7 separate regions of the Homo sapiens genome follow, and regions 1, 2, 3, 4, 5 and 7 are each linked to region 6. Evidence: promoter capture Hi-C in 16 types of primary human blood cells and fetal thymus (Javierre and others, 2016). All regions are on one chromosome and are shown on one strand. Each heading gives the region's core, a stretch centred on a gene start or on the middle of the fragment in contact. The rest is flanking DNA. Distances are from core to core; before and after follow the strand shown.

Region 1 (3,821 bases), core at 797-3,296, 490 kb before region 6:
TCAAATAAGCCCGTGGGAGGCAGCCTCGTGGTTAAGGGGCTTGAGAGTCCAATTTGGATTTTTATCTTGGCTCTGCCACCCCTATTGTTACAACTTTGGGCAAGTCACTTACCTTCTTTGGGCATCGACTTCCCCATTTGTAAAAAATAAGATTAAGTGAGATACCCATATGACATTTAGCTTGGAGCTTGGTATAGCATCAGTGTTCCAAACAAGCTATAATTACAATAAAATTGTTCATAAGATAATCCTTAAGTTTCATGATTCCTTAAAGAAGGGCCTTCCATGCGGAAGGACAGGGGAGCTGGCTAAATGCCAGTCCACTGAAATCTGGCTTCTCTGTGTCACCAAAGGCTGGCCTCCTTCCTAGAGGAAGTGTGGCCCAATGAAAAGAACACAGGTCTCAGAATCCGTCACAGTGATTGTAAGACTGGGATCAGACTGGGATCTAATCCCAGCCATATACTCACTGGCTGTTACCATGGGTTCCATACTAAATCTCTGCCCTTCAGCTCCCTCATCTGTAACAGGGATGCTACCATCCCCCGACCTATCCCGACCCACTGCCCAGTGAATCTGTGTAAGAAATGACAACGCATGGGAAGTGTCTAGTACGCTGCCTGGCACACAGGAGGGACACCACCCATGCCGGCTCCCTTCCATTTCTTCTAATATCAGTTCTCCCCAATTACATTCAGGTTAAAACCAGAAGTTCTCAGTACACAATGAATGGGGCCCTCATGGCAGGAGGGCACAGGAATGGTATGGTTGGCTTTAAAAAGATGACTAAATTGCCCAACAATGGCAAATATATATAATAAACCTACCCCACAAATGTTTTATTTGGTTTCAAGGCCCTGCTGAGCCTGCATCCTGCTACCCCCTTGGACATGGGGTCTGTGTTGCTCATTCACACAGGGAAAATTGGCGGAGCCCTCTCTCCCACCCAGAGCTGCTTCTTGTGCCCTCTGCCAGAGGATGGCAATGTCACAGGAGCAAGGGAGCTGCACAATGCCCAGAGGTTTATGAAAATACGTATCTGAAAAAGGGAATGCTGTGCAGAGAGTGGTCGTGTGGGCAGGCCTGGTGCATGGGAGCAATTAGAGCTGGTTTGCAACAACTAGTGCTGTTCTATTCAATTGCTTAAAGAATTGCCATAGCAACAGCAGCCACACATAGTAAAGTGGCAGCAAGATGGAGCAAACACTTGAAAAAGACCCTCTTTTACTAACCCTCCTCCCTTCCCCAAAATGAATAAAGGGCCATTTTGTTTCTCTGAAATAGTCTTCCAATCAATGTCCATACTTCACACCAAAGTGGGTGACCAGATGCCCATTTTTATTTTCTTCTTCTTCTTGGTGTTAATGATTACAACTGCAGCTCAGCTACCTTTTAATGAGCTCCTACTATGTCCTGGGCTCCGGGCTGATGAAAATATCACTTAATTCCTTCAGCTGACACTGACTGGGAGCATACTATATCTGCATTGGAAACATGAGACGTCCCGGATGCTGTCACAGCCTGCAAGAAGCTTGAAGTCTAGAGAGATGGAGCCACAAGCAGATTTGCTTTTGATAAGTGGCAGCATCTGAGCCAAGTCTTGAACAAACACTTTAAGAGGCCCCACTATGTGCTAGGAATACAGACGTGAATAAGAACTGAGCTCTCTTTTCCTTCCAAAAGCTCACAGTCTAGTGGGGCAGAGAAACATGGAGGTAAAGCATTAATGTGAGGCCACATCTAATTGCTAACATATGGGAGTTAGGAGACCACAATTGGTAACATACTTAACAAACCAAAACAGATTTCAGGAGGGGTAAAGGAGGGAGGGTTAAATGTTTAGAGAGTGTTGCCTCCGATCAGTCCATGGGCTAGGTCTGTTAGCTGTGTTGTGGATGAACAATACTCTAACCCCCTTACGTGTGACAGCAACAGGATGGAGGCCACTTAGGCTAATCCCCAACAGCATGCCATGTGCTCTGCTCAGCGCTCCACATTCCTCATCTTGTGGAGGCCTGCCCCACAAGAACCGTGCGAGGCGGTAACTCTTATTCCATGTGTATAAGAAGATACAGAACCAAAGCTCAAATCGTTGACTTGCTTTTACTGCTACACAGATAATACGTTACAGAGTTAGAGATCTGAACTCAAGTCATCCCAATTAAGGAACCTGTAGTATTTGTGTGTTAGGCTACAGATTCAGATCGATGGGTCACCAGGTGAAAAAGTTCACAGCTTGTTCTTGGAATATTAGAGTTGAAATTGAAAAACTGTACTTTCATACTGTAAAGTTAACCTATTTCTCATGAAAAGGAAAACTAGCCAAAAACTTACAGTGGCAGCTTGTGGAAGAGCGAAGGCCAGAAATGTTGGTGGCTCAGTGCAAAGGGCTCTGCTCCTCCATCTACTTTGACTTGGAAATGAGAATATGATTCCAAGGTCAGGCTTTAGAATCAACTGGCCTGAAAAGTATTCAATGTATGGGCTATATGCAGAAAGCACCTCGGTCTGCTCTTTGAATCAATATTATAGTTGATAAGCATGAAAACTCTTCTAGTCCAGAAGCTTGAGTTTCTATGAGGTGATCATGGGCAGAGGACCTGAAACTCCCTCAACAACTAGAATCTCTCTAACAATTAAGGAAACAAGAGAGCAGGCCCTTTTGTGCCTGCTGAAACAGCGTGATGACAGAAGGGATGACTGGAGCATGTGGTATTAGAGAAAAAGAGTGAAGAATCTGCTGGCATGTCAGGGATGAAAAATACACGTAACCCAGGGTGCTGCCTTGGTACTGAATGCCAGGTCTTTATTATAATTACCCAGGGGGAAACCTTACTCCTTCCTGATGTCTGTGGAGAAGAGGCCACTTGATGGGGCTTCCTCTGGATGCTCAGAGATACTGAGAATAGGGCATCCTACACTGCACAGAGTAGGCACTCAGTAAATAGTCTTTGGATAATAAACGAATCATGCTGTCAACAATATGCTTCAGCAAACACAATAAAAGGATTCAAAACCTCTTTCAATGATATCTGCGGGTTGGATGGTCGGGCTTATGATAGGAATAAGTCCAGGGTGGATCTAGAAAGAAAGGCTGCAAACGCAAAAGCCTTCATGGGTCCACAAGGAATAGAACTGAGTGAAGGCGGCAGGGTGTAAGACAACAGTGAGTGGTGGCCAACACAGATGAGCCATGCCCTGTCTCCAAATATTTAGAAGCATCCAATTAAAAAAAGGTTACAAACACAGCACTTGACAAACAAAACACATTTAAGGGCTGAATTTGCTGAATCTGGCCTGCAGGCTGCCAGTTTGACCTCTGGTAAAGTGGCAGATGAACCAGGGCGGTCTTCCCGACTGGAATCTCTTCAATGACAATGTCTCAGGCTGCCCTCTGATGGAGGCTGGGCAGTAACAGTTGAGGCTGTCTTTCAAGAGGGGGTCACTGTCCCACGTACTCAACATTTGTACCTTTGTGCTCTTTACTGATTGGTGAGCAGACAGTGGTATGTGCTCTTGTTACAGCAACTGGGGAATATAACCAAACGCCTACCTCCGACTTAGCTACCTTGCAGGAGGAGATGGGAAGAATTTCAACCCAGACTGTTTCACACCTGGAAAGCTAGAGAATTGCATTTTAATAACTGAAAAATGAGGGAAGGACAGGGAGTAGATAGGCACTGCATACCTCTTATCGCTAAGGCGTTCCATAGCCCTTGGCTCACTAGCTTCTCTGACTACCTTGGGAAACAGGCATAGTCACTCTACTTGATAGATAAGAATGCTGAGGCTCCGAAAAAGGAGGAGACGTGTTCGAGGTC
Region 2 (3,647 bases), core at 1,074-3,573, 510 kb before region 6:
AAATATCGAGTCAGGTCTTTTGCCTATGTTTGAATCAGTTGTTTGTTCTTCTGTTGTTGAGTTTTAGGAATTCTCTATATAGTCTGGATGTTAATCCCTTACTAGATATATGCTTTAAAAACATTTTCACCCATTCTGTGGGTTACCTTTTTAAGCTGTTGACATTGTCTTTTTGATAGACAAAATTTTTAAGTTTTCATGAAGTCCAATTTGTCTAGTTTTTCTTTCGTAGCCTGTGCCTTTGGTGTCATAGCCAAGAAGCCATTGCTAAAACCAGTGTCGTGAAGCTTTTGCCCAATGTTTTCTTCCACAGGTTTTCATAGTTTTAGGTCTTAAATTTAGGTCTTGATCTATTTTGAGCCCACTAACTTTCTAACATGGCTACAGAGAAACATTTCTGAGCAACATGAATAACTTTCTAAAAATTATTTAGGGGGAGTAGTGAGCAGACAGACTGAAGCTCAGTTCCCAGCTTTGCAAGATCTAGCCGTGACCATGGCTGCTATGATGAAGCCTTAGTTTGCTCATTGATTTAGCAGGGATAATACCACTCACCTCTTAGGCTTTTTGGGGAGAGTACATTAAATATCATTATGTCAGGTGCTTCACATAATACCTGGCAGGTGGTCAGTGCTTTGAGATGGAGGTTATCTACGGCATGCTATCTACAGAAGCGCAGTGTTAAGATGATGGACTTAGGAGTTAGTCAGATGGATTTGAGACCTGAATATCAGCCATGTGACCTTGGCATAGTCAACTACTCTCTTTATGCCTCTGTCTCCTTATTCATCAAAGTGGAACAACAGCAATATCTTTTTAGATGGTTTCAAGGAATAGCTGGGAGTGTATTTAAGAGTACTTCGCACAGCCCCTGGCACTGGTATGCCCTCAACAAATGGCTTCAAAGAGCCATGGAAATCTTTAACATCAGTCTTCATCTTCTGCCTGCAACCTCTTAACACTCAGCCCATTTCTGTAACAGCCACCAATGTTATCTATGAGCTCTTGAAAGGCTGCCAGGCAGATGACTTTAAATAGCAGCATCTGGCCAGTCTTGAGCTCATCGGACTCACGTAAAACTCACATATCAGCATTGAGAAGGTATAGATTACATTCAGAGGAGATTCTCCTTGAAATGTACCCTGAAAAACTTCAAGTGCAACTAGCTGTCTAATGCCTGATACTTTCTGATACTATGACATCCTCCCTTCCCTTTTCCCACCCCTGTAGGCCAGCATAGTCTTTCTAAAATGCTGATTGGATTCTGTGTTTCTAATGACTAGAGCTCCAGTGCATCTCCCCATCACCAACAGGTCTTCTGCCTCAGGAGGGCTTGATGGTCAATGAGTCTGAGACACACTGGGTTAAGCCAAGTTCAGTCTGGGCAATGGCTGAGGGTCCTGTCGGGTCTTTATCGTTCCCTGTGTGCTTCTGACAGGGGAACTGAGTCATCTGTACTCCCAGGGTCTTGGCTCTTTTTATTCAAAGAATACCCATTTCTACCAGTTTGAAAAACATTGGCCATACTCCTTTGAAAGGAACTTCTATGATTCTGAGGTTTTTCACAAGCCTTCCTTTCTGGTTTTATCGTTCTCTTTGCTTCTTTCTCAGCCCACTTCCATGCTGCAAGCACACAGAAATGATCATTTTGCCCCAGTAGGCTGTGCCGTCTATTCTTGAGCATTTCAGCCTGGAATGAGTTGCCCTTCGCCATCTGGTGAAACTGCACTCGCCCTTCGAGGTCCCGCCAAAATATCCCCTCCTCTGGGACACCTGCCCCTCACCTCATCTCACCTACCCTACCCTGTTGTACTTTAACAAGGGATGACTTCTTGACTCTCTTTTCACCCCCACTGGGAGGTAAGCTCCTGGAAGGCAGGACCATGAATGGTTTGTCTTTGTATACCTGACACTAGGCCTGCACGGGATGCATGCTTATAACATTGACCAAATGCTCACAGAACATCAGAAGGAGCCACTGGAAAATGACAGAGTGTTTTTAAGTCTGATTTAAATGTCTTAGGTTTTATACAGTTAAAAAATTTTTCATTTCTCAGAATATAAATCCTTAGCATCTGACTACAAATTCTTAGTGGATTTCAGAACATCATGTACTTTCTGCTCTACTGAATACAGAATCTGAGGGAGGCAGAGCCATGGGTCTTTGGAGACCTGCTGACCCCGTGCTGTCATTTTAAAGACGAAGAAACTGAAGCCCAGAGAAGAGAGGCGCTCAGGCAGGGCCGGCACTCCTGATGCCCAGGCCAGCAGTTCCCTACAGCTCTGTGGACTACCAAGGCAGTTCTTCAGGGGCATGGAGGTGACCAATCAGGGCCTCACAATCCAAATGCCTCCCCATGCCTAGCTAAGCTGAAGAGAACTTCTCCATAATGACACCAACATGTTCTGCTTGGTAATTATGGACCCAACAGTCACGATGAACCACAGCACATACAGAAAAGACTACAAGAAAGCGGCGACAGCATGACACAAGAACCCACCCCCCTTGTAAAAGAAGAGTTTTGCTGGTGTTCACTCTTAATGTTAAATAATGAAGTCTTTAGACAGTCACATATTTCTGCAAGATAACTCTGAAGGAACTCCGTGATAATTTGGCATCAATACCCAACTTATGTTACCTAACATATTTTAGCAGCTACAACTCCCTGCGTGAGATATTCTATATGGACAGATCTATGGTGATTGGTAAATTACAATATGTACAAGTACAAATGCTTCTAGGAAATGGGGCTTTATGTAAATATGTGATATTTTGTACAGAATCCATGCTACTTACTTACATACACAGGTTGCTATAGTGGAGATGTAAACAGATATACCTTGGAGAAGATAATGTTTGTCTTTAAAGTGACTTGGGCTTATTTCTTCTTTAAACAATGGATTGCGAAGTGGGATTCACAAGCACCCTCCACATTTTGAGGCATGTAGGCAACATAGCTTTAAAAGAGTTAACATATCCCTACCAGAAGTCCTAACAAATTGAATCTTATTTAATTAGATATTGTATTTGGGGGGAAAAATGAAATAAAATTATTTCATTAACTAAACCAAACTCCCTTAAAGGCAACAATATGTTCCTCTCTGTCAGGACAGAATGGAATGAAATCTTTATTTTAATTGGGGTCAGATGAGGAGCCATTTGGCTTCAGATGCTTTGTTTATCAGCCCTGAGCTTTATGGCTGAACCGGAACGTGAAATATTCCATTACACAACCGTTCCACTTAAAAGCCCACTTTCCCAATGATTTTTCATATGTTAAATGCTGTAAATATAGCCCAAACTAGCTTTGAAATTTAGAAATAGAATATTTAAAGGTCCCCCAGCGACACGAGGCTCTCGGATGGCCTTGGGTCAGAGATGCTATTTCTTCTCTTCAACAACGTGGCCTCCCTTAGACAAGTGCCCTGTGATCAAGAGGAGCAGGCTAGCAATGCCATCCTCTGTGCCGCTGCTCCTCAACGTGAGTGAGTGTGCCCCCTTCATGCGCCTGAGCCGAAAGTTTCCAGAAATGATAAGCATTCACCAAACACCTCCGAGAGCCCACACAGTATGGTGATTAAGAGCAAGGACTTTGGAGCTAGACATTTTGCATTACAATTCTGACCTTAATGCTTCCTAGCTGTGT
Region 3 (4,152 bases), core at 1,059-3,558, 410 kb before region 6:
TTTGATGGATGAGGAAACAATGCTAGAGATTAAATAATTTGCCCGTGTTCTTACAACTGGATGCATCAGAGAAAGGATTTGAATCTGGGTTCCATGAGCCAGTGTTCCTTCCACTACACAGCATGCACAAAATGTGCCCAAATGCATGTGCATATATATGAGTACATAACAAAGAACAGCATGGGAAGCTGGTGGCCTCCTAGGAGGAAAGGAAAGAGAAATAAGAGGGAAAGTGGATAGGACAGGAAAGGAAAGGCAAACATTCAGGTATTCTAAACTCTTTATTTCCTCCTGAAATCTCAGATACACAAAGAGGGAAGAGTGACATTTTCCTTCCCTTCCTCAGGCCCCAAAGGTCACCAAGCTGCCAAGCAGTTGATGAACGCAGTGGCTTTTCTTTGGAGCCAAGAGTCGCTGATTTGCTCCTTCCTGCTCCACAAAATTAAAAATCTAAGCCTGACAGTTCAGAGGAGCCCTGAAAACACCGCTGGAATTTCCCAGTGTGCTTTAAACAGAAACAGAAGCTTGGCAGAGGAGGGAAGTGGTGTAAGCACCTCCCAGGTCAGGCCAAATCCACCCCTCACAAGGTAACAGGCACTGACTCTCATTAACAAGTCCAGGGATTCTCAAGCCAGGTCAGCAAAGGGGCTCTTCCTCTAATGGCCCCTTTCCTGGCCATCGATCCACTGGGTGTTCATTCACTCACTCATTTGGTACATCACGTATGGAGCCGTCATTCATGTCAACTTTACGCTAGGTCTTAGGGACACAGAGACGATTAAACCATGATCTCTGAACTCAAGGGGCTCCCCGCCTCTCCTTGTGGATGGGCTGTGGGTAGATCTGAGAAAGGGCACAGTAGTATGCAGCAGACCAGTGGACCATTCCCACTCACCCACCAGCCCCATTCTCTCCCCGACATGGTCCTGGGCCCAGGGCCAGAAAGTCTCCAGGCTGGGGTCCTGGCCTTTTCACTTACCAGCTAGGCAGCTTCAGGCAAGGCACTCAGCCTTCTCTAGCACCAGTTTCCCTTGCTGTGAGCCGAGGTCATGCTCCTTACCTTCAGGGTTGTTGAAAAGATTGGGGGAGACACTGGGAACACATGTTTCATACAGAGTCCACCATCAAGCAGACGCTCGGTCAGTGCCAGCTGGCCCCCCTCTGGGAGCTGGGTTCTGCCAGTCCTCCTAGCAATCCACTCTAGAAATCCACCCCAACACAGAACCTCCATCCAGCCTGGCCTCCACTCTGCCATCCAGAACGGAGTGGGGAGCCTACTCACACTCTGACTCTGCTGGTGTTTTGTCTCAAACTGAAGCAGGCTTCCCACTGCTGCAGACTCAGTTTCCTCATGTGTAAAAAGAGGACAAGAAAGGTGTCAACACCTTTCCCCACAGCTGCAAAGCACAAACATGCGATGATATGGCAGAGCACTCCATAAGATGAGAAGCATGGCCCAGAGATAGCTCGCCACGTTACTGCCACCCAGCAGATCCTGCTCTTCTAGAAAACCCTCCTGACTACTCCTATCCCCGCCTCAGGTTGTCATCTCTAAACCCCATGCCAAGCACAGTGAACAACAGATTCTTTGGCCTGCAGTTAAAACTTGTTTAGTGATGTTTCCTGTGCGCTATCACTTTCCCCTTAAAATAACTGCTTTAAACCTTACGCTATTCACATACACTGTGGTAATGTTTACCACTGGTACCTGTAAAGCAGTGTTGAATTTTTGAACATACCATATTTTATATTTACCTATATTTTAGAATGTATTATTTTAAAATATCCTCAAAGCAACCTCTTGAAATGAGCTTTATTATTCACATTTTACAGAAGAACAACCTGAAGCTCCAAGAGGTACAGTAATTTGCCCCAGATCATAGAGTATCAGAGTTAAGATTTGAGCTTGGGATTTGACCCCAAAGCCTGGTGCCTTTCTCCTCGCTGTGCAGCCTCCTCCACTTTCCAGGCACAGAGCTGGTGCTAAGCAAATACTGAGGACAGTGGCCACTTCCACACGTCTCTTGTGACCTCCATGTATAGACTTACCAGAGTGCTGAAACACAGTGGCAAGCAAGCCCTAAAAGTAGGGCCAGTATAATAGTTTTCTTTTGTACACACTAAACTGCTTCATGCAATGAAATAACTGTGTTTGAATCCTGCTCCTCCTAATTATGTGTGTGACTTTGGACAAGTTACTTAACCTCTCTGTGCCTATATTTCATCATCTGTAAAATAGGGGCCCCACTACCAGAGCACAGATGCATTATGAAAATTAAATAATGAGCATAACGTGTCTGGCAGTAGTTCAAAATAGCATCCATCCAAAGTGAAACAATAGAACTTGAATTTAAGAGTTTCACTGGGAGTGTGGGGGATGTTGATTCCCTAGTCCCCAAATGGTTTGGGGTCACCCTATCATAAAATAGGACCTCATTCCTCCCACACAACTGCCACTTGCCATCATTCATTCATCACTAAGCACTGCAAAGCCCGACTCCCATCTCCACCTGCCTTTTATTTGAAATGTCAATTTTTAAAGAGTGGAGAGGTTGGAAACCCAATTTAACAAGCACGCTGAAACATTGTTTATTGCCCCCATAAACATGGCTTAGTGAGAATTACGGACTTAATCAGAGTGAACTTATCTTGCGGTGAAAAGGAACACTTTAAATTTCAGAAATGGCACCTTCACTGTGAAAATCTCTTAACTTTTCAAACAAACTACAGGGGGTCTTAAACATATGGGCAGTAAAGGGGCAGCTATTACTTTGATTTGTCCTACCCACGAGCCTAGGAGCCCTCACAGTCCTTAACAACTTTAAGATCTAGGAAAAATACTTGGAAAATCATATTCAGGAGACATGTCTCTAAAAGCACCCAAAAGGTCTGCAGAGTGAGAAGTGAGACCTGTATAGCTGCTCTTGGGGTTATTCAAAAGGATGGGCCCTAGGGTCATTAGAACAGGGGCTATTTAATAAGCAGCAGCAGTGAGAAAGTGCACCCCTCCTCCTAAGATTAAACATTTAGCAATAGGTAATATTTTGCTGACCTGCTTTTCAGAAGAGAGGTGCTACACAAATCTAAAAGGCTGCTAAATGGTTTGTGTGGGTCTTCTTTATTTATAAACCCCCTCCCTCCTGCTGAGGATGACGTCCTATGAACCCCAACTTCCCAATCTGAGGCTTCATTAATGCTACTCAGATCATTCCAGGGAAGGTTTTCATAAAGACGACCCCATCTTGCAGACAACGTATCAGCCTGGCTGCCAGAGGCAGGAAAGGCAATAGATATAAAATTTTATTATTTCAATGCCCCAGTAGCAGCCAGGAGGACTTAATGAAATCGCCAAGATTTACAATCTGAAATAGCTATTGCACAGACAGATACAGTTAAGGGAGCTGAGCCCTCTGACCTTTCAACCCTTTGATCTTCACTCGGCAGGTGGCCTGGAGCCCCCTCCTGGGCATCTTCCCTCTCTTCTGACACTGCCAAACCTTGATGTGCAATAAGCCTGACCCTACACAGGTGACTCTCCCGGTGCTTATCACCAGCAGCTGCTGCTAATGGCACGGCCAAAATCACTCCGAGGCAGGGAAGGGGAATATACTGTGCAGTGTCCAAATGGTGCTGAAACAAGGCTCAATAACTCAGCCCCAAGTCCAGTTGTGCAGCAGTGCATAATGATGTCATTACCCAAAAGTGTCCTTAGAAAATGGAACTCTGATCTCCCCTGATTTACACTTTGAGGTTGGGGGAGGGGGGAAAATCACCTTTTAAAACTCAATCACAAATCTCAAAAAAAAAAAAAAAAAAAAACCAACCCCAAAGTCCCAAATGCATCTCTCAGAACTTCCCCAAAACCATGTGCAGCAAATTTATACCAGCGAAAATCTAAACAATTTTTGGAAACCTAAAATTGACTGTTTTCAGTTCCATGAAATTTCATTTAAAAAACCCCATATGCCAAAATGTCCAAATTCTCTTATTTTTAAAAATTGGGATGACATCCAAAAATCATAGCTATCTTTTTCTTTCTTTTTTTTCCCCCTTCTTCTAAAGCTAGGGATGGGTAGTGTGCATATGTACTTATCAAGCTTCATAATTTAACCCATTCGGTCAGTACAAAATATTTGCAGTTAAATGCTGAAG
Region 4 (3,598 bases), core at 736-3,235, 430 kb before region 6:
GCCATGAACTGGCACCAATCCACAGCCCAGGGGTTGGAGACCCCTGTTGCAGAATGTTCCCAAATTTGAATTTCTCAGAAGTCTCTGCATGATTAGAGTGGATTTTTGGAAAGAATACCACAGAAGTGAAATATCCTCATTACATCACATCAGTGGTTATATGATATCCACATGACATCACTGGTGATGTTAAAATTGATCGTTTGGTTAAGGTAGTGTCTGCCAGTTTCTCCACTAAAGTTACTCTTTTTCTCTTTACACACACAGTTTTTTAGGAATAAATACATTCTAGCCCACACCCAAGTAGGGGCAAGGGGCGATTAAGCCCCTTCTGGACAGGACAGTCTTTACAAATATTATTTGGTATACTTGTATAAGGATGATTTGTTTCTCTGCCCCCCAACTCTCTTTTGATCAGCATTTGGCTGGTATATCTTTTTTATCCTTTTACTTTTCATCTATTTGACTCTTCATATTTAAAGTAGAATTCTTACAGAAATTATACAATTGGGTCTTGCTTTTTTATATAATAACCTCTGTAAATTGGAGTGTCTAGACAATGTATGTTTAATGTAAAAACCAACATAGTTGAATAAATCTATCATCTTGCTAACTTTTCTATTTGTTCCATCTGTTGTCATGTTTACTCTTTCCCCACAAAATGTTTTGGACCTTCAATACTGGCTTATTAGCTATATATCTCTGTCTTATTTTTTCCTCCCTTAGTGGCCCTTGTAAGGTTTACAACATAAATCTCTAACTTAATACAGTCTACCTTCAAATAATATTATGCCAGTTTTTGTATACAGGTAACGTAACAACCTTTAAACAGAATACTTCTATTCTCCACCCCCTACTGGTATTATTACCAGCAGAATACCTCCACTGGTATTATTTTTACTTGAAATACTCAATTAACTTTTTTAGAAATTACAAATGAGAAAGTAAATTTCTTACATGTATCCATATATTTACTATCTGTGGTTCTCTTCACTTCCTTACAATTCAGATTTCCCTATAATATCATTTTTCCCCGCTGAAGAACTTCTTTTGTAGTGCAGGTCTGCTGACAATGATTTCTCCAATTTTGTATCTGTTTTAAAAAGTCCTAGTTTTGCCTTTTTTTTTGAGATGGATTCTAGCTCTGTTTCCCAGGCTGGAGTGCAGTGGGGCAGCCTCGGCTCACTGAAATCTCTGCCTCCTGGGTTCAAGCGATTCTGCCACCTCAGCCTCCTGAGTAGCTGGGATTACAGGCACCCGCCATCATGACTGGCTAATTTTTGTAGAGACGGGGTTTCACCATGTTGGCCAGGCTGGTCTTGAACTCCTGACCTCAGGTGATCCACCTGCCTCAGTGCTTTCATTTTTGAAGGATATTTTCACTGGATATAGAATTCTGGGTTGATAAAAATTATCTTTCATTACTTTAAAAATGTCATTCCATTGTCTTCTGCCTTAAATGGTCTCTGGCAATAAGTCTGCTAGAATTACTTCTCATACCTTTTTCTCTCTGGCTAATTTAAGCTTTTCTTGGTTTTGAGCAATTAATCAAAATGTATCTTTGTGTGGTTTTGTTTGGGTCCATTGTGTTTCAGGTTTATTGAGCTTCTTGGAGCTCTGAGTATAATTTCATCAAAATTGAAAAAAAAATCAGCTATAATCTGTTAAAATATTTTTTCTGTCTTTCCTCACCTTCCTTACCTTCTGGGACTCCAGTTGCAAGTATGTTAGCCCTCTTGATATTATGCTATAGGATCACTGAGTTTTGTTAACTTTTTCCAGTCTTTTTTCTTTCTTGGCTTCATATTGAGGAGTTTTTATTGCTATATCTTCAAATTCACTGATGTTTTATTCAGTGGTATCTCATATCCTCTTAATCCCATAAGTGATTTTTTTTTCATTCTAGGTGTATTTGTTGCTTATAGATGTTCCCTTTCATTTTTAAATATCTTCCATTTCTCCCTTCATTTAATCAGGTCTTCCTTTAAATTCATGAACATATTTATAGTCTTCATAAAATCTACTTTAAAGTCTTTATCTGCTAGTTCTATCATATCTGTCACTTCTGAGTCTGTTTCTATTGACTAATTTTCCTCTTGTTAGGGGTGACATTTTCCTCATTCTCAACATGTCTTGCACTTTTAAAATAAGATGTTAGATACTGTGAATGTTATGTTATCGAATATTGGATTGTGTTGCCTTCTTTTAAAGAGGGTTGAAGTTTATTTTGACACAAGGTTAGATTTCTTGCACATCAGATTGATCTTTTAAAGACTTCTTTAAAAAGAAATAGGTTTGTTTAAAACTTTTCATCGAAGTTTAACATACACACATAAAAATGCACACACCATTGGTGCTCAGCTTGACGAATTCACCCCCATGTAACTGGCACTCAGATTAAAATCCAGCACATTTTAGGACCCCTAAAGCCCTCTCTTGTGCCTCTCAAAGCTTAATTTTAAGCTCTTTCAGGGCAGGGCTAAAATGATCTTTATAGCTAATTTAGATGTACTATCAAGTCATGCCCTACTGGTGTCTCTTATCATTGTCCTGAATGACCAACAAGATCTCTGACTCTGGTTGGTCAGAACCTGCAGGATTCCTAGACTTGTGTGAGCTCTGAGAACTGTTCATCTTATAGTTTCCTGTCAGGAGTTTTACCCTACATATGGGCAGATTAGTCTTCAGCAGGTTTGTCAATTCAGGTTTCTGGAGCTCTTCAGCTGAGTAGCTCCCTCCTGTCTGATACTCTCACTTGCAAATGTAAACCATCTCCCCTTCAAACTGTTCTTTAATCTTTCAGCTCCCCAAGACTGTTGTGCTTTGCTGGGGATTCCCCTTCTAGTACCAATATCCAGAAAATGCCTCAAGGCAGAAAGCCAGTGGGATAGTAGGCCTCACCTCACTGGCTTCCTTTCACTCAGGGATAACAATCTTGTCTTGTCTGTTGTCCAACATGTGAAAACAGCTGTTTTCATATTTGTCCAGAGTTTTAAATTGTGGGAGGATTAATCCAGTTCCAATTATTCTATCATGGCTGGAGAGCAGTGGCGCAATCACAGCTCACTGCAAACTTGAATTCTTGGCCTCAAGCAATTCTTCTGCCTCAGACTCCCAAAATGCTGGGATTATAGGCATGAGCCACCATGTCTGGCCCCAAGCCTCTTTTAATAAAGTTTCCAGCGTAGATGCCATGTTTTACAAGATTTCATCTACCATAATAACCCAATCCATATGTGCCTTCCATCCTTCCATCTATCTATTCAGTGGCTGCTAGATTCTTGGAAAACAAAGATGAATAAAACTCAATTACTGCTACTCCAAAAAACTGACAAGTAAAAGGGAAATGGGCAATAAATCAGTACAATTACACAAGGTACACAAGGGGCTGTGGGGACATAGAGAAAGATATGGTCAAATCTACGTGAAGGTCAGAAAAGATTCAGTGTGTGTTTGTGTGTGTGTGTGTGCATGTGTTTGTGTGTGTGTGTGATTAAATACTTGAGAGCAGGTCTTGAAGAATGAGTGAGAGATTAATAGATGAGGTAAGACACTGGGACAAAAGAAATGCTGCATACAAAGTATGAAGTTATGAAAC
Region 5 (3,642 bases), core at 43-2,542, 450 kb before region 6:
ATTCCTAAAGGTGCCTGTGACCCTAGAAATATTAAGAATCACTTGCTGAGAAGTCTGGGGAAAAAAAAATCCGACCTGGGAAGGACTAGATCATACTTTAGAAATGATCCACGCACATTAGGTCTTGTACCCAAGCTTCTGATAAGAAAAACTTTTAATAGCTTATTGAGACATATTTCACATATAAAATTCATTCATTTAAAGTACACAGTTCGGTGGTTTTTAGTGTAGTCACAAGACTGTACAACCATCACTACTAACTCCAGAACATTTTTATTACCCCCGAAAGAAACCTCATACTCATTAGCTGTCACTCCCCATTACCTATCAATTTTTCCCCCACACCAGACCCAAGCAACCACTCACCTTCCTTCTGTCTCTACAGGTTGGCCTACTCTGGACATTTCATATAAATGGAATTAACAATAGGTAGTCTTTTGCCATCAGATTATTTCCCTTAGCACAGTGCTTTTATGAACAAGGTTCGTCCATGTTGTAGCATTGTGTCAAGACTTCATACTTTTTATGGCTAAATAATATTCCACTGTATGGATAGACCACATTTTATCGATCTGTTCATCTGCAGATGGACATTTGGGCTGTTTCTACTTCTTGGCTGTTATGAATAATGCTGCTACGAAGATTCATGTGCAAGCTTTTGTGTGGAGACAATGGAAATTTTGAGGTGACAATCTGAAAAGCAAAAATCCTCTGCCAGACCTTATGCAATGAAGACAAGCTGGAAGGATACATGAAGTCACCAAGCACAGTGCTCAGTGCCTAGGAAGCCATTCATAAATGTGAACTGTGTACAGGAAAACAATCCTTTGCTGTTGATAAAGGGCGTGCCTCATGTTTGGACACTAAACTGAGTGAAGATGGGACTGATACCCTCCTCTGATAAGTTAGAAGCCATGGGGACGTGCCCAGCGCTTTGGGAAGCCAAGGCAGGAGGATCGTTTGAGGCCAGGAGTTCAAAACCAGCCTGGGCAACACAGTGAGATCCCATCTCTATAAAAAATATAAAAAGATTTAGCCAGCCATGGTGGCACCTGCCTGTAGTCTCAGCTACTTAGAAGGCTGAGGTGGGAGGACTGCTTGAGCCCAGGAGTTTGAGGTTGCAATGAGCTATGATTGCACCGTGGCACTCCAGCCTGGGTGACAGAGTGAGACCCTGTCTCAAAAAAAAAAAAAAAGGAAAAGTAAAAAGCCCTGGGAACATACACTGAGGGGGTAGTTATCCCACCTCTACTCCAAGAGGGGACCATGGAAAACAATTCCTTTGGAAGCAGTTTGAAGTCTACCTCAACATCCGGGTATCTATAACTGATTTATTATGACCTCCCCTTATCAAGGACACATAAGCCCCAGCCCCACAGTGATGAGAGCCCCTGAGGAGCAATGCAGGCCACTCAGCACCCAGGCTGACTCTGCCATGGACTTCCACCTACAAAGAGAAGTATGAAAAAGCAGCATGCTCTATTAACATGCTAAAAATACTACCCACTCCCTGCCCCTGCCCCCAAAATAAAAATAAAAATCCTTCCCCTCCCAGGGACTACAGTGACATTTCCATCCTTTGAAATGGTGCAAGCCACTGTCGCTCTCCTTCTGGCTCCTCAAGGGCCTTGGGCCACCTGTGCCGCAGATTATTCCTCACTTAACCTTCCCTGGCCTTTCTCTTTCATTCGGGAGGTGTTTAATTACCTTGGATTCACAACGCTGCACTTCAGGTGAGCCTCTCCTAATGGCCTCATTACCATTTTACACAAAGAAGGAGTCGTTGATTGTAACTGAGCAAATACGAGTGTGTCCCTTCCTGCCTGCCCCAGCTGGTCTGAAACTAGCCAAGTGGTCCTGGGCTCCTGATGCCCCTGTGACCACTTAGGCCAGGACTTCTGAAGACCTCTTGTCACCCTGAAACATGGAGAAGCTTTTGTCTTGACCTGCCAGCACCTCAAACTTTGAAACTGCAAGTATCTGTGCATCTGATCGCTGGGGAGTAGCATTTGTCCTTTAAATAAAAGTAAGGGAAGACAATTTCAGGTTTAAACAACACAGAGTCATATATCTAAAGCTGAACTTGCCCTCAGTACCCCGAGGGGTGCTGGTCAAATCATTAACATCGGGATTCATCAGGGGTAATTTGGGTGTGTTGTAAGTGCTGGTGAGGATGGCTTCCTCCTTTAATCGGGTGTTATAGGAGGAAGACAAGGCAAAGGAAAGAGGGGGCAAAACTGAACTTGCCAGCTTCTGTCTAAGACGCCCTTTCCCCTCTGTGTGCCATCTTGGTTACCGCAGCATCATCCGGCCAGTCTCCTGGGCCAGGCGTCAGATGTCAGATTCCCTACTTCTCCCTCCTTCCCACAAACATTCTCCACATCTCCTCAACACCAACCCAGATATGCCCTGAATCCATCCTCTCCTCTCAGTGCCCATGACATTGGCCCTGCAAATTCAGCTCCATCACCCTCTCTGGCCCAGACTAGTGGAGCGGTTTCCTCAGTGGGCCTTCTTCTGCCTTCAGTTTCTCCTCAATGCCATTCACCCATATCTGTCCTAGTAATCTTGGAAAAATCCAAATCCAATCACTTTGATCCTCCATCAAAACCCTTCGGTGCCCCCGCCCTTCACCATCATCACCTTCAGAAAAACATCCAAACTTCCACGAGCAGACTGTGCAGGCTGTCCTCCATCAGCCTCACTTCCACCTGCCCCACTTAATGTTAAACTTGGATGTCCAGAAGCACAGGCTACTCTTCAGCCCATTTCCATGTCACTAGCTCAGTCCTGGCTGTCTCTTGTCCCTTCCTGTCCTGCTTGTGAACATCTATTCAGCCTCTGAAAGACCATCCAAGTCTCCATCAATGGGGGCCTCTGAAATACATTATCCCGCATCCTCACCAGGAAATATCACATAGCTGCCAAAAAGGACATGGCGGTACTCTATGAACTGACACAAAAAGATGTCTGTCAAATACTGTCGAGTGAGGAAAAACATGCAGGTTGCAGAGTAACATGTACAGCATGAACCATTTAAAAATTATATATAAATATATATGCAGTAAAAATCTAAAATGCTACATTACCAAACTTTAACCATGCAAGGATGCTTTCACTTTCTATTTTACACACTTGATTGTTTTGATTATCCTTTATAAAAAAGCATATGTTACTTTTATAATAAAGAATTAAAATGAGGTATTTTTCTTTAATAGTCAAATTACCCATTGCCTTGGGTTAAGGGAAAGAGGGAATCCAGATGTCCCCCCATCTGTGAAGCCTGCCCTGACCACTAAGTCTGGGCCTCCTTGGACTGAGCAGGTGGTTCCATGGTGAGCTGCAGTTTCTACCTCCTTTCCTGATGGACTGAGTTCCCCGCAGGGCCAGCAGCCAGCACAGTTCTTGACTCAGTGTACTCATGCAGTACTTTCTGCCAAATGAAAGAACGAATGAGCAAGTGCTTGACATTGTGAAAGGCATTTTCAGTGGCTGAGCCTCTCTGCTTGGAGGAAAGTCTAGGATCACATTCTTTAGTGACGGATCATTAGAAGAAACTGGTCTCTGTTGGAAAGGATGGGAAGAGAAAGTGATATTCATTCCTCTTCTGTAGAATGCCATTGCTAAGACACAACCACAATG
Region 6 (3,938 bases), core at 150-2,649:
GGGACTCTGTAACCGAAGTGCTTATTCAGTTTTTGTCTACAATCATTTTATTTCCTAAATCCCTCCCCCACCAGACACCTGGGTATTTCCCTCCAGTCCCCAGGAGACTCTAGGGTGAGCCTGAAACCTGGAGGCTGGGGGTAGCAGTTGGGATTTACCCAGCACGCTACTTTGTTGGCCCCTGGGGAGGTGGTGCAGCCAGGCGGGTAAGGAGGACTCGCGCCATCAGCGGGGTCTGAGACATGGTGTGCCCAGTGGGCAGAGAATAGGCCTGTGGTTTTTAAGAACCTCACTGATATCGAATGTGTCTTGGAGTGAGAAAGTTTTTAATGGAAAAGGAGCAAGAGAGAGTAATGAAATAATTTGCTAAGTGCCTACTATGTTCCAGGCATTTTACATCCACAGTCTCTTTCAATCAACACGTCCATGCGGAGGAGAGCTTCTTGTCGCCCATTATAAAGGTCAGAAACAGGCTAAGGGAGGATAAGTCACTGCCTAAGGTTACAGTGCATGTAAATGGCAGAGCTAGGATTCGAACCCTGGCCTTTCTGAGTTCCTAAAGCCATGCTCGCCCCCACTCTTCCAGGCTGGGGAGAGACCGGGAAGAGCGAGAAGCTACACGCTGGGCTGCAGATTGGGCCCTAGCGGGCTTGGAGCGTGGATATGCTGGCTGGCCCCCCTCCCCGGGAGTCACAGCTCTCGCCGGTCTCGCCACTCAGGCTCTGCCGGGTACCCAGGAGGCTTGCACGGCCGCCTGCAGCCCGCTGTGCAGAGCCCGGGCCGAAGGCGGAGCTCGATGGGAAACGGCCGGCCGAAGGCTCTTGCAACTCTGCCACAGGCCTGCCTTCCCGGGCCTCCCAGGCGGGTGCCTGAGGCCGCGGCTCCAGGCCGAGGGGAGACCGCAGTGAGACGAGCATCCCCTTGCTGCGCCTTCTTAGGATAGAGGGTTTAATTTTCCTTTCTGAAGATATCGCAGGAAGCTGTTCGTATCTTAAAAACTCCAAACCCCGCGCTCTCCCTCCTCCCTGCCTCCCCCCCACCCCCGCCCTCCAGCCTCGCCCACCAGCTCCCACCATCTCGACTCTCCTCTGCTCCTCTTGCCTCTCCCCTCCCTCTTGGGTCTCCCGCCTTCCCGGAGCACGCGCTGCCAGGGCCTGGGGCGCCGAGCGGCCAATGGCACGGCGGCAGGACGTGATGTCAGGCGCGGCTGTAGAAAAGGCGCGGAGGCTTGCGCTGGCGCGGACTGCAGAGCCGGGGCTGGGCTAGGCGCGCGCTTGGAGAGCATTGCGCGCGGCTGGGCCCGCGGCCGGCGGCTCCTCCTCCCACTCTGCTCCTCCTCTTTTTTCTCCTCCTCCACCTCCTCCTCCGCCTCCTCCTCCTCCTCTTCCTCCTCCTCTTCAATTCTCCCGGTGGCTCGACTCGGCTCGCAGGCTTCGGAGAAACCCCTACTCCAGTCGCCGACTCAGCGCCCAAGAGGGTCGCCTTGGGCTGGGGGCGCACCCCAGGGAGGGGAGGGGTCCAGGCAGCTGGGCCGCCGCGGACACCTAGCGGCTTCAGGGTGAACCCCGACCGCAGCCGTCGCCGCCTCGGGCAGAGTTTGCGCCCTTGCTTTGCGCCCCGGGCGCTGAAGCCGGGCGGGCGATGCCCGCGGCGTGAAAGCGCCCGCGGCGGGCGCCGACCTCTGTCCTAGTCTCCTGCTCCCCCCGCCCCGCTTGTCCCGTGCCCTTGTGACCCTGGCTTTGGCGCCGTCGCCCAGGCGCCCCGCAATGTAGCTGCCCCTGCGCCTCGGCGGGAGGCGTCCTGCCCCGCGAGCGCCCGGGGCCCGGAGCCCGGCCTGGGGGCTCAGCCGAGCTCGGGCGGGGCCGGGGCCGCGGTGGCGATGCACCGGGCCCGTTAGCGCCAGGAGCGCCAGGCAGCTGAGGCGGGGGGCAAGCCCTCCCTCGGAGGAGCCGCGCCCCCGGCCCCGCCGGTCCCGCCGCGATGCTGTTCCACAGTCTGTCGGGCCCCGAGGTGCACGGGGTCATCGACGAGATGGACCGCAGGGCCAAGAGCGAGGCTCCCGCCATCAGCTCCGCCATCGACCGCGGCGACACCGAGACGGTAGGCGCGCGGCTGTGGGGTCGGGGCTGAGAGCTGGGATGGGGCCGGGCCAGTCAGCGCCTCTGCTCCCCGAAGTTTGGGGAGCGTCCTTCGTGCCGCACGGGACTGGGTGCTGGGGATCCTCGGTCAGAATGCAAGGCCGGTGGCTCCCGGTTCGGGGGAAACCCGGCTGCTGGGACGCAGAAGGGAAACAAGGTTGAAACCGAAATCTCGGCCCTGGGGGTAGAGGAGAGCGTTTCTTCCGAACTGGAAGCGAAGTCCCATCCGCGGCCCGGGGCGGCTCCCTTCTCACCTTGCCCGGTGCCGGGGTCGACAGCCCCGCGCTCTCCTCCACCTCTCGGCTCCGGTTGCTGGCGGCGCCGCGAGCGGCGCCAGGGAAGGGCGAACCAGCTGGGAGCATTGGGGCTCCAGCCGGCTTGGGCCGCTCCCAGCTTTCCGGCAATCGGGGATCCTCCTCAACCCCCAGCGCAGTTTCAGAGGCCGAAGTCTTCGGGGCCAACATTTGTCGTTGATCGCGTCCCCAGACCCTTGACTGGTCAGACTTAGCCAGGCCAGGGCTGGGAGTTCAGGCTCCGGCCTGGCCCTCGCCGAAGGAGACTCCATTTGGATCTCTACACCTGGCTCCGCGGGCCCAGCCCCAAATAGCCAGTTCCTCGCCTCAGGCCTCCCTGGGGGCCAGACGAGCAGACACTGCCCGACCAGCGGGCCCAGAAGTGACCTTTAGGAGGCCGCGGAGGTGGGGAGCACGGGAGAAGCTTCTCTGCTCCGGGAGCAGGAGCAGCGGCGCCAGTGTCCTCCCGGCCTCTGAGCGCTTCTTCGGTTAGACCTTCTCTGCTGGTCAGTTTGGATAGGGAAGTATTTGGGTTGAACCTGTCCTTCACCCACGGACTTTGAGGGTGTCCCTGCACCCCACTTACCTCATCCCCGGACCCAAGAGGGCCCCAGCCCGTGTGGCAGAGGAGCCAGAAGTTGGCTGACTTGTCCTGGCCTTAACCTCTGGTCTAAGGATCCAGGGATCACTGGAGCTGGGGCCCAGGAACTCCGCTGTCTCTCCAAAGAGGATTCTGTGTGGAGGGTGACTTAATGGTCACCTTATCCCCCGGGTGGCTCATTTAAGAAGCAGTTTAGGGAAAGCTCTTGGAGGGCTTGACTGGAGTAGCTGTCCTGGTCCCTAAACACAGCCCGAGCATTTTGGGGGAAAGGACAGGGAGGACTGGAAGGAAGAGAGGTAAGCACCAGAGCCATTTAGGCCAGGAGCCCGGCCTGGGCCCGTGGCTGGCGAGGGCTGCGCAGGCAGGCCTGGGTTCTGAACCGCCCAGAAATGGAAATGGGCCTTTTGGGGTGGGGGGAAGCGCGCCGCATGTCCTGGCAGCCCCCTCCGCGTTCAGGGTAGCCAAGGCCACAGAGGGAGTTGTGGGTGCCGGTTTCCCGGCGGCGGAGGGGCCGCTGGCTGACGCAGGCGCTGCTGTCTTCCGCCTCCCTCCCTTCGCAGACCATGCCGTCCATCAGCAGTGACCGCGCCGCGCTGTGCGCCGGCTGCGGGGGCAAGATCTCGGACCGCTACTACCTGCTGGCGGTGGACAAGCAGTGGCACATGCGCTGCCTCAAGTGCTGCGAGTGCAAGCTCAACCTGGAGTCGGAGCTCACCTGTTTCAGCAAGGACGGTAGCATCTACTGCAAGGAAGACTACTACAGGTAGCCCCCCCACCCAACTGCCCCTCAGGACCCCTCCCCCCAATCTCAGGCACAGTCTTACAGTTTGGCCCTCTCCTTTCCGTTTAGTCCCAGGAGAGGGTTCACTACTCAGGACTCCCCCGCTCCCCCCCCAAGTTCTCCAA
Region 7 (3,765 bases), core at 402-2,901, 400 kb before region 6:
TTACCCACAGAATGGTTTCTTGTTCCAGCCCTGGTTCTGTAGCATACCCGCTCTAGGATACCTGGTAAACTGCTGGTAAGAATGGTCAAGATGCCATGAGGAATGGGAGGTGCTTGACAGGCACACACCATCTCTACACATGGATTTCTGACTCCCAAGCACACTCTTGTCTCCCGGATACTCCACTGAGTTCAGGAGGGTTGCTCATCACTCTCGTCAGGAGGGTGCCTTTCCTTTCTAATGTACCACCAATAACGGAAAAACTATCAATGAAACAATGGTTCATGACTTTCTGATCACTTGGACACATTTTTAAAAACCTCTTATCACTCTTGAGCATACATTAAAAATAAAACAGCAAAATAAATTGGGTAAGCTATTTAAAAAAAAAAAACTTCTTCATATTCAGAATCCAACACATCTGAATCCTTTTCTAATTCAGAGGCATAAACGTCCATGTTTTTCCAAGGGTATCTCAGTTACAAAACCAAACCAAAATCCATCTACTAGAAGTGATCTTCCTGTTTAGGTTCAAGAAAGAACTTATTTGTTGCTGTTCTAGAAAACATGAATGGAAATATCTGCTTCAGTAATAGCAAATGTATATACTCTGCTTCTCTTCTCCAGAGCCTTTTAGCATTCACAGTGACTTTACCTTTCAATATTGAATCATAGTGCAATTTTGAAGACATTTTAAACGGCAATTAAACAACATGTGCAGAACCAACAATGCACATAATTAAATTAAAGTGGTGATAATATTAACAGTTATAACCAAACTTATGCATAGGCAGGTCATGACAACCATGTCACAACTGCTGTATGACTGACAGTGATTGTAGGATGCTATTGTACATCCTGGAATAGCAGAATGGGGTATATCTGTATGAAGCTTTTGTTCTCTGGGAATTACTGCACTATCTGATTTCATCAGTTACAAACGTGAGAGTAAAAGTGACTCTTTTTTCCTTCTCCCCTGAAAAGGAAAAGGGCTCTGTTGCTGGTGTTGAGGCAGACACAACAGAATAACCTTTACCTGGAAGATATCTTTAGTTTGAATCCTCTTAAGAGGAAAAGGAACTTTTATTGAGCTACTATAATTCAGTCACCTTTATGCATTACACACATAATGCTCAAGGGAACTCTGCAAGGTGGTGCGATCATCCATATTTTCAGGTTAGGAAACACGCTCAGAAAGATAAAATTTGCCAAGATCGCACAGCTGGTCAGTGGTGAAGCCGTACTTCAGACGCAAGGCTGCTGAACAGACAGCCCAAGCTCTGCACATGAGGTCACACAGCACATACTCAGTACTTAAGCTGAAAGGAAAAGAGCGCTGGGGTACCAAAAGGGCTATTCGCCAGTCCTCTTGGTTCCAGGCCTGTGATGCTGAGCGCTTCTCTGACAGGTAAGTCCTATGGCATGAGCTTATTCCCAGCAAGGAAGAAGCAAGAATATGGAAACTGCAGACTTACTAACGATCCTGTAGTCCTTGTTCATTATTACCGCACTTTCACAATTTGTTTAATTCCTTTCCCCCAGATAACCAGGGCTCTGTTAATCATGTTCCCCTGAGGTGAGCAGCTACTAATTGGAAATGAGTCCAGTGAAATAAAGGAACACTGGCTGCTTAAAAAAAAAAAAAATACAGCTTCCCAAGACAAAGTGGGAGGGGAGAGGAAACAAGGGAGAGGCGGTCCCTCCACCTCCAGGTGGGCAACACCTCTGCTATCATGAAGGAACACAGCTTAGGGCAGCCCAGGGATTTGGAAAGATCACTGTTTACACATAGGTATCCACGTTACAATATACACATCACAGTGTCACCTTACCTCTCAGAGGGCCACCACCTTCTTAATTAAATACCCTGATCAGGCAAAGGGGATCCCACAGTCAGAAAGAAAAACTCTGAAGGAGGTCTTATGTGAGCTTTTCTTTCTTTTTTTGTAAAAGACACAAACGTGTAAACACAGATTGTCTTGTGGTTTTAAATTCTGCTCGAAATAATGAGCCTGGCTTTATTAGAGAGGTTAAAGGACAAGAGAACGGGAAAAAGAAAAAGAACAGACACCAGAGAACATATCTTGCTGGAGAATGCGAATGATCATGGTTTTGGGCTTAGTGAGAGCGATGAGACAGCTGCTCTTCAGGCTAATGTAACTGCCAGTGTAGGAGAGGAAGCCAGTAAGAGCAGCCACCACTGACTGCAAATTTGCCAAGAGCCAGCATAGGCTAAGGCATTTTCCTCATTAGATTCTCACCATAGCAGCATAAGGAGGGTGCTATCAGAACTACCATTTCACAGATGGAAAAACTAAGATTGGAAAAGCTAAATCATTCATCTGACGTCACACAGCTAGTAAGTGGCAGAACTGGGACTAGAACCCAAGCCCATGATACGGGGATCAAGCAAGCTTCTTATTTCCTGGAGACCAGCATTCCCACAGCCTGCAGAGGAAGGAGGTTAGGTGGTTTTCTCTAACCTGCTCCCTAAGGGCTGGCCTGCAGCTGTGACAAGACCTAGGAGCTTCTACATTCTGTCTGAGCTCCTCCTCCCCTGCTACCTTTTCCATCACAGGAAGCTTCTGGTCCCTGAAGTGCCTCTGAGCTCATCTCAGTCACATGGTGGCCCCACAGGCCTCAGCTTCACTATTTCTTCAAGTCCTACTGAAGCCATGCTGCCTGCCTCTCAGATTGCCCAGTGGTGGCTAACACCTCTCTTGGTAGGGGCTTTTGTCCGGGTTACCCATTTGGCATAAAGCATGTGCTGATTTGAAGGGTGACTCTAGATTGTCAGTCACAAAAGCACAGAATCCTGTTTCCCAGAGCCTCCCATGGTGCCATGTGCAGAGCAGGAAGGGTAAAACAGTCGAGCTATTTACTGAGCACACACCACATTTCAAGGGCTGCATGGGAGGCTCCAGCCACCTTATCTCATTTAATCCTCAAATAATCCAATTTACACCATCCATTTTATAGCTTTTTTTTGAGACAGAGTCTTGCTCTGTTGCCCAGGCTAGAGTGCAGTGGTGCGATCTTGGCCCACTGCAACCTCTGTCTCCTGGGTTCAAGTGATTCTCCTGCCTCAGTCCCTCGAGTTGCTAGGATTACAGGTGCGTACTACCACGCCTGGCTGGTTTTTGTATTTTTAGTGGAGACAGGGTTTCACCATGTTGCCCAGCTTGGTCTCGAACTCCTGACCTCAGGTGATCCACCTGCCTCGGCCTTCCAAAGTACTGGGATTATGGGCGTGAGCCACTGTGCCTGGCCATTTTATAGACTTAAAAAGGTATTCTCAAAAACGTGCCTATGGGATCACCCAGTTAATGGTGATCCCAGCCCAAATCCTTCTACTTCCAAGTCTCTTACGCTACTCTTACTTGCTAGTGACTTCTCTTAACCATTATGCTACTGTCGACAAAAAATGGTTACTGGATAATTATAGCTAAAAAAGTAAAATAGCTAGTGGGTTCATAGTCAGAATAAAACTATATTTGCCTTACTAGCTGGAATTGACTGATACTCTTTTCTGTTCTAAGCGGGATTTAAGGCAATTTATATGAATATTTGCAACATAGCAACAAAAGTATGAAAAGAAATAGGAGCTAAGGGGAAAAAAAAAGGAAGCTGTGGCAAGGTTAGTGTTTCTATTTCATGCTGGGACACCTGCTGGGATGGTCACAGGTTTGGCTCTGAGCACTCTGGCCACCAACCCAAAAGGGAAACAAGACTGTGAGGTGTTTTGTGGTGTCCACAGGAGAAAAA

The links. Contacts are between HindIII fragments. The CHiCAGO score rates a contact against its expected background, and 5 or more counts as called.
Region 1: a contact is called between a fragment that was not itself captured here and the fragment with the promoter of LHX2 in region 6, in 4 of 17 cell types (endothelial precursors, erythroblasts, M0 macrophages and 1 more). The highest score is 8.7, in endothelial precursors.
Region 2: a fragment that was not itself captured here is called in contact with the fragment with the promoter of LHX2 in region 6 in 1 of 17 cell types (megakaryocytes); the score reaches 6.2 in megakaryocytes.
Region 3: a fragment that was not itself captured here is called in contact with the fragment with the promoter of LHX2 in region 6 in 1 of 17 cell types (neutrophils); the score reaches 5.3 in neutrophils.
Region 4: a fragment that was not itself captured here is called in contact with the fragment with the promoter of LHX2 in region 6 in 6 of 17 cell types (megakaryocytes, endothelial precursors, monocytes and 3 more); the score reaches 8.7 in megakaryocytes.
Region 5: a contact is called between a fragment that was not itself captured here and the fragment with the promoter of LHX2 in region 6, in 10 of 17 cell types (megakaryocytes, M1 macrophages, naive B cells and 7 more). The highest score is 10.7, in megakaryocytes.
Region 7: a contact is called between a fragment that was not itself captured here and the fragment with the promoter of LHX2 in region 6, in 4 of 17 cell types (M2 macrophages, megakaryocytes, endothelial precursors and 1 more). The highest score is 6.7, in M2 macrophages.

The regions. Positions count from the first base shown.
Region 1 is chr9:123,521,314-123,525,134 of GRCh38, forward strand. All of the region lies in intron 13 of DENND1A (DENN domain containing 1A), which reads right to left. Among named protein-coding and RNA genes, the nearest start is that of MIR7150, 38 kb to the left of the region's middle. The HindIII fragment of the contact is 1,034 bases long and covers 1,530-2,563 here.
Region 2 is chr9:123,502,489-123,506,135 of GRCh38, forward strand. The region is part of intron 13 of DENND1A (DENN domain containing 1A); the gene reads right to left. Among named protein-coding and RNA genes, the nearest start is that of MIR7150, 19 kb to the left of the region's middle. The HindIII fragment of the contact is 4,077 bases long and covers 286-3,647 here.
Region 3 is chr9:123,594,659-123,598,810 of GRCh38, forward strand. The region is part of intron 11 of DENND1A (DENN domain containing 1A); the gene reads right to left. Among named protein-coding and RNA genes, the nearest start is that of MIR7150, 110 kb to the left of the region's middle. The HindIII fragment of the contact is 3,573 bases long and covers 523-4,095 here.
Region 4 is chr9:123,575,389-123,578,986 of GRCh38, forward strand. All of the region lies in intron 12 of DENND1A (DENN domain containing 1A), which reads right to left. It overlaps LOC105376266 (a long non-coding RNA gene), which reads right to left. Exons shown (of 2, transcript XR_930332.3): 1 at 1-3,598. Among named protein-coding and RNA genes, the nearest start is that of MIR7150, 92 kb to the left of the region's middle. The HindIII fragment of the contact is 927 bases long and covers 1,523-2,449 here.
Region 5 is chr9:123,559,509-123,563,150 of GRCh38, forward strand. All of the region lies in intron 12 of DENND1A (DENN domain containing 1A), which reads right to left. Among named protein-coding and RNA genes, the nearest start is that of MIR7150, 76 kb to the left of the region's middle. RefSeq lists an enhancer at 1,440-2,001. The HindIII fragment of the contact is 1,278 bases long and covers 654-1,931 here.
Region 6 is chr9:124,010,369-124,014,306 of GRCh38, forward strand. It overlaps LHX2 (LIM homeobox 2), which reads left to right and starts at 1,400. Exons shown (of 5, transcript NM_004789.4): 1 at 1,400-2,100; 2 at 3,593-3,795. The coding sequence starts at 1,981. RefSeq lists a silencer at 1,324-1,373 and enhancers at 2,312-2,884, 2,885-3,457. The HindIII fragment of the contact is 7,434 bases long and covers 1-2,853 here.
Region 7 is chr9:123,612,960-123,616,724 of GRCh38, forward strand. The region is part of intron 10 of DENND1A (DENN domain containing 1A); the gene reads right to left. Among named protein-coding and RNA genes, the nearest start is that of MIR7150, 130 kb to the left of the region's middle. The HindIII fragment of the contact is 1,522 bases long and covers 891-2,412 here.